Linked DNA regions of Homo sapiens: region 2 is linked to region 1. The links are contacts of gene promoters, found by promoter capture Hi-C in blood cells and fetal thymus (Javierre and others, 2016). All regions are on one chromosome and are shown on one strand. Each heading gives the region's core, a stretch centred on a gene start or on the middle of the fragment in contact. The rest is flanking DNA. Distances are from core to core; before and after follow the strand shown. Region 1 holds the start of UCK1 (uridine-cytidine kinase 1). Region 2 has its middle 88 kb from the start of NTNG2.

Region 1 (5,193 bases), core at 1,446-3,945:
GGCCAGGCTAGTCTTGAACTCCTGACCTCGTGAGTCGCCTGCCTCAGCCTCCCAGAGTGCCGGGATTACAGGCGTGAGCCACCGTGCCCGGCCAATTTTTGTATTTTTAGTAGAGATGGAGTTTCACCATGTTGGCCAGGCTGGTCTCGAACTCCTGACCTCAAGTGATCCGCCTGCCTCGGCCTCCCAGAGTGCTGGGATTACAGGCGTGAACCACTGCACCCGGCTGACTCATGCTTCTTTAAGGACACTCTTCGGCTGGGCACAGAGGCTCACACCTGTAATCCCAGCACTTTGGGAGGCTGAGGCAGGTGAATAGGAGTTCGAGACCAGCCTGGGCAACATGGCAAAACCCTGTCTCTATACTAAAAATACAAAAATTAGTCGGGCCTGGTGGCAGGTGCCTGTAGTCCCAGCTACTCGGGGAGGCTGAGGCAGGATAATTGCTTGAACTCGGGAGGCGGAGGTTGCGGTAAGCCAAGATTATGCCACTGCACTCCAGCCTGGGCAACAGAGCAAGATTCCGTCTCAAAACGAACAAAAAAAACCCATAAAAGTCACTCTTCTTCACAATATGGGGAGTTGGGGACCAGCTAGAGGTTTGGGGCTGGCCCTCTGCTTGGTGGTGGTTGGGATGGTCCCATAGGGGAGCCACTGTGGCCCAGAGGCCTGAGCCGTGTGGGCCCGGGCCTTGTTTACTGGACTGTGGGCTTCCTGGGTGCTGGGCCTGCTCCCAGGGAGTGGCTCCTTCCCAAAGCGTCCCTTTGCCTTGGGAGCGGAACCACGCAATAGCCTGACTGGCCCTGGCAGCCCATGCCTTGTGGCCAGTCACCAGAGAGGGCACACGAGACCCAGGCCAGGGGTATCAGGGACAGCCCCTGGTCAGACTCTGCTAGTTTCCCTGCCTTTCGCTACGTGGCTGGACCACAGGGGAAGAAATGGCAAGAAACCGTGTCTAACTCTCCCTTGATACAAATTCAAAGTTGGCTTGGGGGATGGCCACCTTTGGGACACACACCTGGACAGATCTAAGCCAGCAGCGTGGCTGTTTGCTAGGCACTGTTCTGTGCCTGGGGCTTAATTTACAGAGGTACGGCTGAATGACCATGAGGAGAGGCCAAAGCCATCGCAAGATTGATCGCATTTCCTGAGAGAAGGGGCACCCATGCCATGCACGGTTCTCAGTAGAGAACCCCAGGTTTGGTCAGGAGGCAGAAGCAGGGGCGAGGGGAGAGCCCAGGCCTGAGGCTTTCTTGGGGTTTCCATGGAAAAGGCCTGGCAGGGCAGGGAAAGAGTTTAAAATTGGCTAGTTTGAGTAATTCTAGCAGGCTCTGGGCTGCAGAGTGGTCTCTAGTCACCTGATACCTGGCCCTGGGTGACTTAGGGCAGGGAGAATCTTGCCTCCAAAGGCGAGAATTAGATAAGGAGGTAGCTGGGGCTGTAGACTTGGGGTCTTTTTTTTTTTTTTTTTTTTTTTTGAGACAGAGTCTCACTCTTTCCCCCAGGCCGGAGTGCAGTAGCGTGATCTTGGCTCACTGCAAGCTCCACCTCCCGGGTTCACACCATTCTCCTGCCTCAGCCTCCCGAGTAGCTGGGACCACAGGCGCCCGCCACCATGCCCGGCTAATTTTTTGTATTTTTAGTAGAGACGGGGTTTCACCATGTTAGCCAGGATGGTCTCGATCTCCTGACCTCGTGATCCACCCGCCTCGGCCTCCCAAAGTGCTGGGATTACAGGTGTGAGCCACCGCGTCCGCCCGGGGTTGTCTGTTTTGTATATGAAAAGCATGCTCTGCCCCGAGCCTTAGCTATCTCTCTCTCTTTTTTATTTTTGAGACGGAGTCTTGCTCTGTGGCCCAGGCTGGAGTGCAGTGGCACCATCTCGGCTCACTGCAACCTCCACCTCCCGGGTTCAAGCGATTCTCCTGCCTCAGCCTCCCAAGTAGCTGGGATTACAGGCGCCCGCCACCACGCCCAGCTGATTTGTTGCATTTTTAGTAGAGGCGGGGTTTCACCGTGTTCGCCAGGATGGTCTCGATCTCCTGACCTCGTGATCTACCCGCCTCAGCCTCCAAAAGTGTTGGGATTACAGGCGTGAGCCACCGCGCCCGGCTGGAAATCCATAATTTCAATGGATCAGAATTTGCCTGTCACGTTCTCTGTGCCAGGCACGGAGCGGGGGGGCGGCAGGGATGGAACCCGGCACATGGGCCTCTGCCTCCTTGGCGCGCTGTAGGCGCGAGCCTAAAGTCATCAGGCGACAGCCCCCGCCACGTTCCGGGGCGCCCCGACGGCTCCAGCAGCGGGTGGGGTGGGAGGCGTCCGGACAGTCCGGAGGCCTCGATGGCCAAGAGGAGCCTGGGCTGGAGGGGGCCAGGCCCGGGGGCGGCCGGGGGAGGGCCCGGGACTGGCGCAGAGGCAGCGCGAGGCAGAGGCAAGCACTCGGACGAAGGCGCAGCCCCAGCCTCGGGGTGCGGAACGGGCACCTTCCGGGCCACTTGAGTCTGAGACCTTGTAGCCGGCTCGAGGCCCGGGCGCAGCAGTCCCTGCCAGCCAGCTTTCGGCGCAATGGGACGCGGGCGCTCCTGGTGTGCCGGCCTCGGGCCCTGCACCCTCACGCATGCGCGGCCCCCCCCCCCCCGGTGGACTACAACTCCCGGCGTGCCCCGCGCGCCTCCCGGAAGTGATCGCTCCGGTTGCCTCCGACCTCGGCGCTGGGCGGGCGCGCCGGGCCTGGGGAAGGGGCGGGCGCGGGGACCCGATGCGCGGGAGCGGAGGCCGAGATGGCTTCGGCGGGAGGCGAAGACTGCGAGAGCCCCGCGCCGGAGGCCGACCGTCCGCACCAGCGGCCCTTCCTGATAGGGGTGAGCGGCGGCACTGCCAGCGGGAAGGTAAGGGGCCGAGCGGGCCGGGGTCTCGCCTCTCGCCGGTGCCTACGGGCGGCCCGGTCCAGAGAGGAGACCCCAGCCCCGGCCGAGGGGCCCCCTGCCAGGCAGGGGCAGGGCGCGGGAGCGAAGGGGCTGCAGGCCGCGATGGGCCGGGGCGGGCTGGGGCGGGCGAGGGGTTGGGGCGCTGGGCCTCGGGGCTCCCCCACAGCCTCTCCGCCGGCCGGGCTCCTCGGAGCCCCAAGTCCGTGCTAACCCCGTTGGGCCCCCGCGGCCCTTCCGCTGAGACCATCCACACCTGTTGGTGTCCTCCCGCCTTCCGAGCATACCCCCCAGGGGGCGGGTGGGTCAGTGTCTCCAGAAGCCGGCCCCGTGCCTGTCACAGGACGAGCGGTTCCAGGCGGGAATCCCGCTTCTGTGTCTCCAGTCGACCGTGTGTGAGAAGATCATGGAGTTGCTGGGACAGAACGAGGTGGAACAGCGGCAGCGGAAGGTGGTCATCCTGAGCCAGGACAGGTTCTACAAGGTCCTGACGGCAGAGCAGAAGGCCAAGGCCTTGAAAGGACAGTACAATTTTGACCATCCAGGTAAATCGCGAGCCCAACGATGTGGGGAGGGCAGACCCCATTCTGGGCGGCCGCTAACCAGCTGCGCTTGGGCCCAAGGTTGGATGGATGCAGACCCGCTTGGGCTGTTCCCCCAACTCGCCACGCAGCCTGCAGTGGAGTTGGCTGCACAGTGAAGTCAGGGGAACTTTGCTGAGTTCTCTGGGCCCTGAGTGTCCCCCCAGGAGCGTGGTTGGAGCCAGTCAGGAAGCCTGTTGCACTGTGGGGAGCCCTGCCCTGCCCTGCCACAACTGTGATCCTGGAGAAATCCTCCCATCTTCCCTTCCCACGTTGGGGCCTTTAGGGCCCTCCACACACACCTCTGCCCACTGTGCCCTCCCGTGCTTTGGGGCAAAGTCCTCAGAGAGGCCAGTGTGGGAGGCGGTAGGTAAACTAGTGCTGGTGGCTTGAAGCTCCGGGCCAGGTAAACGGGCAGATGCGGCAGGGAGACACCTGCCACTGCTAGAAGATTCCACCCTGGCTGGCTGGCATGGTCAGCCTTTTCCCAAGGACTTGTGGGAAGAAGGCCTGCAAAGCCGCAGTCTAACCAGTTAGTCCCAGAAAGAGAGAGAAGCAGAGGCCCAGCCTACCCACCTCCCAGGAAGAGCTGATCAGAAAACCCCTGTGTTCCGGCATCTCAGGGGCACAGAGCTTGGGCAGTGGCACAGCCCGAGAACAGCAAGGACAGGGTCATCCTGTGGTCTGCAGGGCTGCAGAGGGCACTGTTGCTACCAAACATACACTGCCGTAGTCCTAGTCTACCTGTGCTAGGGTTCTCGGTGTCCCCAGCACCCAGCTGTGCTGACCCCAGAGCAGAGAGGGTTCCCTGCTGTCCGCTGCACGAGGGCATCTGCCTGTCTTGCCTTTGTCTCCAACCCTGCAGATGCCTTTGATAATGATTTGATGCACAGGACTCTGAAGAACATCGTGGAGGGCAAAACGGTGGAGGTGCCGACCTATGATTTTGTGACACACTCAAGGTAAGCAGGTGGTTCTAGGGAGGGCCGAGGAGAGGGGCCAGCTAGGACGTCCCCTCGGGCTCACACAGACCTGCCTGGCGGCAGGCCTCCCCCGGTTGGTTTCTGTGGGTCCCCCACCCCTTCCCACAGTCAGTGTCCCTGCAATGGAAGCTGACTGTGTGTGTGGCCTGGAGACCCTGTGTCTGCAGCAGAGCCCCTTTCCCCGTGCGCCCCTCAGGTTACCAGAGACCACGGTGGTCTACCCTGCGGACGTGGTTCTGTTTGAGGGCATCTTGGTGTTCTACAGCCAGGAGATCCGGGACATGTTCCACCTGCGCCTCTTCGTGGACACCGACTCCGACGTCAGGCTGTCTCGAAGAGGTAAGGCGGCCGCGGGCCTCCGTGCCTGCCTGGCCGAGGCTGGCGGCAGGTCCTGAGGTCTGAAGCACGCCTGCCCCTTGCCGCTGCAGTTCTCCGGGACGTGCGCCGAGGGAGGGACCTGGAGCAGATTCTGACGCAGTACACCACCTTCGTGAAGCCGGCCTTCGAGGAGTTCTGCCTGCCGGTACCTGTGCTCGCTGCTTCAGAGCCCATTTTCCCCTTTCACAAGGACACATGGGACCCAGTACTGTGAGAGGGCTTAGTGCTGGGTGACAGTGATCTGATTGAAAAAAAGGAGAAGAATTTGGCTCATTATGGCCACATACCCTGGGAGTAGTTCTCAGCTGTAAAAACATTCTCTGT
Region 2 (5,193 bases), core at 254-2,753, 720 kb before region 1:
GGGAAGGGCCCCCTATCCGGTGGACACGTGACTCACATGACCTTATCAATCATTAGAGATGACTCACACTCTTTACCCTGCCCCTTTTGCTTTGTATCCAATAAATAACAGCGCAGGCAGGCATTCAGGGCCACTACCGGTCTCCATGTCTTGGTGGTAGTGGTCCACCGGGTCCAGCTGTCTTTTCTTCTATCTCTTTGTCTTGTGTCTTTATTACTACAATCTCTCATCTCTCCACACAGGGAGAAAAACCCACAGATCCTGTAGGGCTGGTCCCTACAGGTCTTGAACTCCTGACCTCAGGTAATCCTCCTGCCTCGGTCTCCCAAAGTGCTGGGATTATAGGCGTGAGCCACCGCGCCCAGCCGGCATAATGTTTTTAAGTTCACCCACATCGTAGGTGTATCAGTGCTTCATGCCTTTTTCTGACTGAATCACAGTCCACTGTGTGGCTGTACAGCATTTTGTTTATCCATTCATTAGTTGATGGATAGTTGATGGACAATTTATTTCCCAAATGTGGCTTTTGTGCTGTTTTCCCAGTAGCCTTTGGTTATTGTGAATCGTGCCACTGTGAGCATTTGTGTACAAGCTTTTGTTTGAATACCTTCTTTCCATTCTTTGAGGACCTGTACTAGGAGCAGAACTGCTGGATCTTATGTGAATTCTGTTTGACTTTTTGAAGAATTGGTCCCCATGATTTTAAAGATAGACAAGGTAGTTGTCAATGTTTGAAAATCCAAAGGTTGACATTAAACTTGAGATTTCTGGTTTTTCTTGAAACATCTAGAGCAGGGGTCCCCAACCCCCAGGCCACAGACCAGTACCGGTCCATGGCCTGCTAGGAATGGGGCCACACAGCAGGAGGCGAGTGGCAAGTGAGCATCACTGCCTGAGCTCCACCTCCTGCCAGATTCATAGGACATGAACCCTATTGTCAACTGTGCATTCAAGGGATCTAGGTTGCATGCTGCTTATGAGAATCTAATGCCTGATGATCTGAGATGGAACAGTTTCACCTGAAAACCATCCCCCACTCTGATTATTTATCGGAAAATTGTCTTCCACGAAACTTGTCCCCAGGGAAATGCTGATCTAAAGAACCAGCAACACCAGGGCTTACGTCCCCCTGACACGTCAGTCTGAACTGAGGCTGCTTCTCACTCAAGACTTCCCTTGGCTGCCCCAGTGGCTGGCACAGGGCTGTCCAGCGTGGCACGCACAGCAGTACACATTTGCCGTTGGCCAAGCAGGCAGCTGGCTGGCTGGGGGTGGGCCCAAATGTCTCCACTCATAGGTTTCCTGCTACCCCAGAGCTCTGCCCCTATGTGCACCATGGGACTGTGGGTATTTGTGGCCGGTCTTCCAAGAGGGGTCACAGAGGCTGCCTGATAGCTTCTGTGGCCCCAGGGGGCCCCAGGAGGTGAGGCTGGGTATCTCCAGCCCTGCTCAGGGCCTCCCCAACCCCGCCATGGGCTTAAGGGGCGTGCCCCCCAGAGCCTGCACACTCCTTCTAGGCCACCCAGGATCAGAGCCTGGGTAGGGTGACTGGTTGGGGAAGCCAGGCCCAGCCACCCCACCACGTGCTGGCCACAGCTGGAGGAGTCCAAGGGTACAGATTTGAGCCCAGCCTTTCAGGTCACTGTGAAGGGATTGCTTGTCTAGGACTGGCTGAACTTTATTCAACAGCTTGATGGGCGGCTTTAAATATCCAGACACGTGGTACAGGAGCCTCCATCTGTGCTCTTGTCCTAGCCCTGGAAATGCAGGGGGCGCCGTGTTGACACCCAGAGGTCGGGATCCTGGTCTCCGGGGTTAGCGCTGCCTGGCTGTGTAAAACTCGAGTCACAGGTCTCAAAGCCACCCCGTCAAAGGCATTGTCCAGGCCTGTACTCCCCAGCACTGCAAGCCTGGCCTGGGCTGTGGGGGCCACCAGGAGCCCCGTCCTCAACTTATAGGCCCATCTTCTCCACGGGTCCCTTGCAGGCTCAGCTTCTTGGGAATTGGCCCTGCCTGGCCCTCATGTTCCTGCTGGGCCAAGCCAGGGGGCCCATGCGTCCTTTCTTGGGCATGGGGAGACCTCTGAAGGCAGGTGGCACAGTCAGCTGTGCCTGCTAGAAGGGCGCTGGAAACTCCATTTCCTGGTTCCCAACTGTCCCATTCACGCCCCACCTCCCCAGTCCTGTGAGCCTCCCTCTGCCCTCATCCCCTACCCCCCAAACAACCCCATCCCCAATCTTAAGCCCTCTGTGGGCAGGAGGGGAAAGGGGAAGGAGGTGTCCGGGTGTTTGAGGAACAGGCACCGAGGTTTCTGGGGCCTGCTGAGTCAGGCCGGGCTTGGCCAGGTGAGGGTGGTGGGGTGGGCAGGGGCTTCGGGAGTCTTCCTGGTCCTTCTTGTTGGCACAAAAGCTTGGGCCCCTCTGCAGATTACAAAGAATCTCAATCCTGCCTGGTGTGTAAGGCAGGTGGCAGCGAGGGGCCCACCGGGAGCTCCGGGAGGGCAGAGCCTGTGTCTGTCTGGTTCACTGGGCCAGGCTGGTCACGTTGAGGTGCTCAGGAATATGATGAGTGAGAAAGGAGGTGTGAGTGAGCCTGAACCCTCCTAGCAGGTTTTGGGGAGGGGGCACAGAGGAAACAAAGCAATCACAGCAGCTGACACTTAGGGATGGCTGACTTGGTGCCAGGCCCTGTTCTAAACACTGCGCGGCTCAACTCATTCACTCCTCACAACGGCCCCACCCTGCAGGCGCTATTTTTAACATCCCCATTTCACAGATGAGATGGCCAAGGCACAGAGAGACTGAGGAACTTGCCCAAGGATGTATAGTTGGCAGGTGTGGGGTACAGCTTCAAGCCCAAATCAGGTTCCAGAGCTCACCGTCCTTCTGCCTGAGGAGCTGCCCTCCCCTTCAGGGGCAGAAATGCGGGCACTGGGTCAGCAGTGAAAGGCACGAGCTCCCAGGACTCTGGGCCTCACTCCAGCTACTCCTGGCTGGGTCCCAAGGGCCACCTGCTCCATCATCCAGGGAGAGAGCCTCTGGCTGGAAGCCATCTGGAGCACTTTGGCCGCAGGTGCCTCCACCTGGCCGCCCCTGTGGGGCAGCAAGGTCTCCTGTGCCACCAGGAGCACAGGCACTGGGCCAGACCCTGAGGTGTCAGAAGGGTACATGGCAACCCCCTGCCCTGGGAGCCAGAGTCCCACTGCCAGCCGGCCCAGGCTGGGAGGGGAAGAGGGTGAGAGGCTGGGCAAAAAATGAAAGGTGGGGCTTTGCATTTCTTTTTGTTTTTTTTTGAGACGGAGTCTCCCTCTGTCACCCAGAGGAGTGCAGTGGCATGATCTAGGCTCACTGCGACCTCCGCCTCCCGGGTTCAAGCGATTCTCCTGCCTCAGCCTCCCGAGTAGCTGGGATTACAGGCACCTGCCACCACGCCCAGCTAATTTTTGTATTTTTAGTAGAGACGGGGTTTTGCCATGTTGGCCAGGCTAGTCTGGAAGTCCTGACCTCAAGTGATGCGCCCGCCTTGGACTCCCAAAGTGTTAGGATTACAGGCATGAGCCACTGTGCCTGGCCTTGCATTTCTTTTTTCTTTTATTATTATTATTATTTTTGAGATGGAGTCTCACTCTTGTCACCTAGGCTGGAGTGCAATGGCATGATCTCAGCTCACTGCAACCTCTGCCTCCTGAGTTCAAGCGATTCTCCTGCCTCAGCCCCCTGAGTAGCTGGGATTACAGGCACCTGCAGCCACGCCCAGCTATTTTTTATATTTTTAGTAGAGAAGGGGGTTTCACCTTGTTGGCCAGGTTGGTCTCGAACTCCTGACCTCAGGAGATCCATCCACCTCGGCCTCCCAAAGTGCTGGGATTGTGGGCGTGAGCCACCACGCCCGGCCTCTCTTTTATTTTAAAAGGCCTCCTTTGATAGTCTAGATACAGTGCTAAGTTTTATATAGCAGGCTAAAGAAGGATGTGTATACGATGAGGCCATTGTTGTTAAAAATAAATAAGATAAATAAATAAAGGGAAAAAATAAAATAAAAAAAGGTGCAGGGCTGTGCAGCCTGCCCAAGAGAGTGCATTTGAATCCTGGCCTCTGGCTCTTCCTGGCTGTGCGACCCCGGGCAACTTACACACCCGCTCCGTGGTGGACATTCTTTCTTTGTTTTCTTCCTCTGGTTGAGGAAACAGAGCCCACCCCCCCTTGCTGGAGTGGCAAATGCTGGACTGGAGGGTGCGGGTGCGTGGTGGGGGCTGTGGTGGGGAGGCCAGCAGGGGGTAGCCCTGGGGGTGAGGGATGTGCCCAGGGCAGCGCCCAAGGCAGCATCTGAAGCTCTGGCTCTCCAGCCACCCTGGGCGGGATACTGGGTGCCCTTCCTGACTCCACTTTACCTCCTCTTTTTTGTTTTTTTGTTTGTTTTTGAGATGGAGTTTTGCTCTTGTTGCCCAGGCTGGAGTGCAGTGGCACAATCTCAGCTCACTGCAACCTCTGCCTCCCAGGTTCAAGCGATTCTCCTGCCTCAGCTTCCTGAGTAGCTGGGATTACAGGCATGCACCACCATGCCCAGCTAATTTTGTATTTTTAGCAGAAACGGGGTTTCTCTATGTTGGTCAGGCTGGTCTCGAACTCCTGACCTCAGGTGATCCACCCACCTCAGCCTCCCAAAGTGCTGGGATTAGAGGCATGAGCCACTGAGCCCAGCTGTTTGTTTTTTTGAGACGGAGTCTTGCTCTTTGCCCGGGCTGGAGTACAGCGGCGTGATCTCGGCTCACTGCAACCTCCGTCTCCTGGGTTCAAGGGATTCTCCTGCCTCAGCCTCCCAAGTTGGGGGGGGGACTATAGGCATCTGCCACCACACCCAGCTAGTTTTTATTTTTATTATTATTATTTTTTTGAGACGGAGTCTTGCTTTGTTGCCCAGATTGGAGTGCAGTGGCGCGATCTCGGCTCACTGTAACCTCCACCTCCCAGGTTCAACGGATTCTCCTGCCTCAGCCTCCCAGGTATCTGGGATTACAGGTGCCCACCACCACGCCTGGCTAATTTTTATATTTTCAGTAGAGACGGGGTTTCGCCATGTTGGCCAGGCTGGTCTCGAACTCCTGACCTCAGGTGATCTGCCTGCCTTGGCCTCCCAAAGTGCTGGGATTACAGGTGTGAGCCACCGCGTGGCCCACTTTCCCTACTCTTACCT

What was found. Contacts are between HindIII fragments. The CHiCAGO score rates a contact against its expected background, and 5 or more counts as called.
Region 2: a fragment that was not itself captured here is called in contact with the fragment with the promoter of UCK1 in region 1 in 2 of 17 cell types (M0 macrophages and total CD8 T cells); the score reaches 5.6 in M0 macrophages.

What each region holds. Positions count from the first base shown.
Region 1 is chr9:131,528,765-131,533,957 of GRCh38, reverse strand. UCK1 (uridine-cytidine kinase 1) reads left to right here and starts at 2,695. Exons shown (of 7, transcript NM_031432.5): 1 at 2,695-2,891; 2 at 3,313-3,472; 3 at 4,374-4,470; 4 at 4,688-4,830; 5 at 4,920-5,014. The coding sequence starts at 2,784. RefSeq lists silencers at 2,290-2,459, 2,600-2,959, 3,160-3,209 and enhancers at 2,625-3,538, 4,244-5,193. The HindIII fragment of the contact is 8,496 bases long and covers 1-5,193 here.
Region 2 is chr9:132,247,172-132,252,364 of GRCh38, reverse strand. No RefSeq gene overlaps it. Among named protein-coding and RNA genes, the nearest start is that of NTNG2, 88 kb to the right of the region's middle. The HindIII fragment of the contact is 1,817 bases long and covers 595-2,411 here.